Linked DNA regions of Homo sapiens: region 1 is linked to region 2. The links are contacts of gene promoters, found by promoter capture Hi-C in human tissues and cell types (Jung and others, 2019). All regions are on one chromosome and are shown on one strand. Each heading gives the region's core, a stretch centred on a gene start or on the middle of the fragment in contact. The rest is flanking DNA. Distances are from core to core; before and after follow the strand shown.

What was found. Contacts are between HindIII fragments. The study calls those that stand out against the background at their distance.
Region 1: a fragment that was not itself captured here is called in contact with the fragment with the promoter of KIAA0087 in region 2 in 1 of the 25 tissues and cell types used here (neural progenitor cells).

What each region holds. Positions count from the first base shown.
Region 1 is chr7:26,571,200-26,573,899 of GRCh38, forward strand. No RefSeq gene overlaps it. Among named protein-coding and RNA genes, the nearest start is that of LINC03095, 21 kb to the left of the region's middle. The HindIII fragment of the contact is 8,227 bases long and covers 1-2,700 here.
Region 2 is chr7:26,537,534-26,540,233 of GRCh38, forward strand. KIAA0087 (KIAA0087 lncRNA) reads right to left here and starts at 1,292. Exons shown (of 2, transcript NR_022006.1): 1 at 873-1,292. It overlaps LINC02981 (long intergenic non-protein coding RNA 2981), which reads left to right. Exons shown (of 5, transcript NR_148502.1): 5 at 720-2,700. The HindIII fragment of the contact is 4,605 bases long and covers 1-2,700 here.

The DNA.
Region 1 (2,700 bases), core at 176-2,675, 34 kb after region 2:
AGTAAACACTAAGAGAAGAGAGGAAGGCAGGAAGAAAGGGGTGGGGGGGAGGAAGGAAAAGAAAGAAGGAAGGAAATCCTTTCAAACTCATTTTGTGATACCAAACGTAGACAAAAACAGATCAAGATCCAAAAATACTGAATAAAATAAAAGTAAACCAAAATTACCAACAAATAAGAGATCAAGTAGGGTTTATCCCAGAAATGCACTGTTGGTTCAATATTAAAAAAATTTATTACTTTAGTTTGCCACATTAAGAGATTAAAGGAGAAAAACCTCATGATCATCTCAATAGGTGAAGAATTCAGTAAAATTCTAAAACCGTTCATCATAAGGACCCTAGAAAAATTATTGCAAGCTAAATGCAATACATGAATGTGTATGAATATTTGTAGGAGCAAAGAACTGGAAGCAACACAGGTGTCCATGAACAGTAGATTGCATGAATAAATTGTTTTATATTTGTACCAAGGAATATGGCCACAGACAACGATGTGGATGAATTTCACAATGTTGGGCAAAAAGAGCATGACAGCAGCACATCTACAGACATATCTTTTAGGGACAGGCAGAAAACTTTAGGTAAAGCAGGGTAGTGATTAACACAAAATACACAACGGCATTTCCTCAGGGCAGTGGGGGAAAAGAATACATGAGGGTGGCCCTCAGGAGGGCTGAGTTGTGGGCAATATTTTATTGAGTGGGTGGTAGGTACCTAGGTGCTCATTTGATTATTATCCTTTAAACCAGCAAAAATTTAATATATACCCTTTTATATGCATGATAACTTTTATCACTAAAAAAAGAAAAACGGTCCGGGCACGGTGGCTCATGCCTGTAATCCCAGCACTTTGGGAGGCTGGAGGCGGGTGGATCACCTGAGGTCAGGAGTTCGAGACCAGCCTGGCCAACATGGTGAAACCCCATCTCTACTAAAAATACAAAAATTAGCCAGGTGTGGTGGCAGGTGCCTGTATACCTAGTTACTCAGGAGGCTGAGGCAGGAGAATCGCTTGAACCTGAGAGGCAGAGGTTGCAGTGAGCCGAGATCACGCCATTGCACTTCAGCCTGGGCCTCAGAGCAAGACTCCATCTCAAAAAAAAGAAAAGAAAAATAAAACTTTTCCTTGGCATTCCCTGCATTCTTATAGCTTCACCAAGTCAATCGTTCACCTTTTCCACCATCAATACTGATTCTTTAGAAACTCAAACCAAAAGAGAAGTGAGTGGAAGAACAAGTGACACTCCTTAGGCTTCTCCCACTTCTCTGGGGTCTCAGCTGTGTGGGCCAGCATTGTTTCCATGGTTCTTTCAATAGGCTTCTTATCAACTTTGTTATGCCTCAGCCTAAAGCAAATCTAGCTTAGCTGAGATTTAATTACCCTTTATACTTTCTATTATAATCTGTGTATGCCATACATGAGCAGCTACTATTCATTCTATCATTTTCTTGGACACTTACTATGTGCCAGGAGCTAGACTAAATATGTCAGTCATTGGCTCATTTTCCTTCTCCCTCCTGAGGTACCTGCCATAATTATCCTCATTTCTCAGATAAGGAAACTGGTCACGTGACTAGGATGTGGAAGAGCTGAGATTTGGATGCAATGCTGTTTGTCCACATGCTGTATTGTCAGAAAATAAAACTGGTGCTTTGAGGAATTTGATTTGGATAAAGCAAAATGGCATTTGAAATAGCATCTGTGCTGAGGAATGCATTTATTGCCCTTGTGTGGGGACAGAATATCTAATATAGTAGGAAAGCCACATTATACCAAGCTTTCACTGAGTGTAGTTGCTGGCTTCAACTGGCCCAGATGTGTGTCTGCATCCGGGGATTGACCCAGATGTGTGTCTGCAGGTACACAGCCTAGTGCTCTGCATCAAGAAGAGCTGCAATTATGTGCTGCTGTATTTCTTTATAATTACCCAAAGGAAGCTCTAGGACTTAAAGACCACAGGCATACTTTCTTTACAATCCTCAGGCCAGCCTAAATCAATTCCAACTATAACTGTCCTTGGGGTTCCAAAAAGACCTCTTATTAAAATGATCCATAATTTTGATTAGTTTCTATTGCTCTCAGCAGAGGCCTGGGCCTGATGGCTGTGATTCACACATATTCTTCCTGAATAGAGGCTGGACTGCTTATGTGTTTGAGGTGGTCCTCAGAGAGGAAGGGGTTGGCCCTCTAGACCCAAGTCAATTTGACTTTGCTCTCATTATTGCTACTCTGGATTGTGTCTGCAGGTAGGCAGCCTGGCCCACTCCCACCCATGTTCCCAAGCTCAGTTCAGAGGAGGCTTACTGCGGGGAGAGGGGCTCTGCGGCTTGGAATCTACCTCACAATAGAAATCGCTATCACCTGAGACCTACTGTACAGTTGAGATGCCCCATATATATCATCTCATTGAATGATGTGTTATTACTAATTTGTATGAAAGAGAAAGAACCTGAGACTCAGAGAAGTGAATCACACTGAACAATGTCACAAAATTAAAAAGGGGCAGAGCTAGGATTTGAACCCTAATCAGCCAGACCCTCTCCTCCTCCTACTGTGCATGGCACCTACATGAGAAGAGTCGTTCTGCTTGGATGAGAGTAACAAATCAATGGACAGAACGTCACACCAGGGTCAGGAGTTAGGTTGTTCTCCCATGCACCCTCTCTCTACAACACGGACTCTGAGGGGTTGATCTCCT
Region 2 (2,700 bases), core at 42-2,541:
ACTGGAGTCAGCTGAGTGGCCTGAACCTTAGCTCGAGCTGTGTGACCTGGGTTGAGTTACTCACCTTCTACGAGGCTTAGTTTCCACCTCTGTGAAATGGGGATAAAGTGTCTGCCTCAAAGGGTCATTAAGGGGGCTAGATTGGTGAATGCACAGGCAGCTTCTGGAGAAGGAATTTTCCCAGGACTAGGAAGAAGAACTGGTGAGTGGGAGGCTTTGAAGGTGAGTGAGGGATGATAACAGGTCTATGAAGAAGTTCAGGCTGGGAGAGGTCTGGCCTTGGAGTGGGTTGGGGGTGCTCTGGGCAACCCTTTTCAAGGGAGGAGAAAATGGAGTAACCGTCAGGACAGAAAACAGGGTGCCTTGGTGCTAAGTTCCAGGGGGACATTGCCTTGGGGGAAGAAAAAGACATCTTGGAACCCCTATCTGTTTACTACTGTTCATTTCTTAATTCTTTATTTGTAATGAAGATGGGAAGGTTTACAACCTTGACAGTTCCATTTATTTCTACCATTTTCACCTAAAACAATACAAGGAACATCAATTATTTCCACCCTGGTTTCAACTGCAACTGGATAAAGTCGGCTTAATTAAACATGTTCAGTGTCTGAGGGTCTGTTTTGTTTCTCTGTCTGTCTGTCTGTCTGTATCTTTCTTTCTCTTCTACCAACCACCACACCATCCCTGTCCCCTTCTTCCTTCTCCTCTCCGTTTTCTAGCCTCACAGCTGGGCACAGGAAAACACGGAATAAGGACCCAGTGAACTAAAGGGGCTGAAGCCATGACTAGGAATCATATGCATGAAGAAGCCCAGAAGAGCCAATCCTCCCCAGAAGGGCACCCGGAGACCACTAAGGAAGGAGGGAGGATACCTTCTGTTCCCGTGTTCAGGCTCCAATGTATCCAGGTCACAGGAGGCTGCCTCTCCAGGCAGAGAAACTGATCCGTCCCTATCAGTGCCAGGCAGAGGGCAGGGGATTTCGCACCTGAGCAAGGGTTGGGATGACTCCCAAGCTTCCATTCTCCCTGGAGTTCCTCCCGAGGGTCTCTGTGACACAGAGGAGGAAGCAGGAGCTTTCTTTGCATAATCATGGTCAAATATTTATATTTGTTTAGGATTTGCTTCTATAGGATGTTTTCGTCATTCAAATCTATTTCCAAAATAAATCTGGATCTCTTTTATAAGAAAATGCAATGAAAACACCAGAATGATAGAGTAAGAAAATAGAACTGAAATTACTGAAAAGGAGCTGAGGAATTAGATGTTGCCAGGCATCTGAGATGAGATGATTAAAACAGCCAGGTGGCTCTGAGCTAAGGCAAAAGGCAGAATCTGGGGCAACACAGTTTATATCATCTGACAACATAAAGCATGCACATCCTTTGTGTCAAGCCGCACTGCTTCCTGGAACAAACTCAAGGCAGAATTTATTACCTGGGTTCCTGTTTAAGTGCATGTCGAATGACCAGTTGATGAAAGCCTTCAAATAAAGTTTTGCAAAAGAACAAAGAATGAGACGTGGAGTACTGACCCTCTCTGAAAGGATACCAGAATTAAGACTACAGAAGCCGACCCAACATTTGCTCACTACCTTTTAAATTGGACTTAATGCCATATTTTAAAAAATAACCACTTTTAAAATAATTTTTGCTTATATCAAAAGTAATACAGGTGAATTTCAGGAAATTTGTAAAATACAGCTTCAAAGAGAGAGGTGGAGAGAGAGAGAGAGAGAGAAATCTATCATCTATCACTCACCACTATTAACATTTTAGTGTCATCTTCCCATGTTTTTGTTTATGCATAGATATGCATATCTATTTTGCAAAGATAAGAAATTACTATATCTTTTAAACGTTTTTATTTGATAATGTACTATGAATATTTCCCATTCAATTAAATACCTCTACAGTGACACTGAATGCTTATGATACTGTATTGATATTAATATTGTAGAATACATCAGGAAGATATTATTACAATATGTTTAACCAATCCCCTGGATGCTAGATATTTGGGTTTCTAACATTTCATCTTTTTAAATAATTCTGTGATGAACATCTGTTCGCAGGGTACCCTCCATGACCAGTTGTGTTTCAGAGAAGGCAGATCTAGTCCATTCAAGGCCAGGATCCCCCGGAGGTCAGTACATTATTTGCCCAGTGAACTGTGGGCATATCTATACTTTTTGCACTTTTCCAGGCAGGAAGGAGGAAGTAGTACTGAGAACCCACTGTCTTGGGTTAAGGAGCATTCTCTGGGCTGCTTAGGGGAGAAGATTTCTATCCCAAGGTCCTGCAGCCTTGGGGTAAGATGGGAGCAGAGAAGACAGAGTGTGGGGCCACTGTGGAGGCAGCAGGGAGGGGTTCCTTGTGGCCACTGATCGGAGCCCTCATATTCCTTGTGGGGAGGCTCTAATTTCTCCAGAGATGCTTCTCTACTTGGAGGTCTGCCCTGTGTCGGGAGCATTAGTGGCCCTGCAGAGAGGTGGGACGTTATTTGGATACTCTTGCTCGTAGGGAGTTTGTTGCCTCCCAAAAGGTGTGTGGCATTTGTAAGTTGTTCTCCTTTTCCATGGTTCTTCAGAAGACTTGAATATGGTTTGTAATCTAGGCACCAAAATTGAAATTCCCTCCAAAGAGCCACACAAATAAATGACCTCCCATACCATTAAGTTCTCTCTATGCATGGCAATCCCT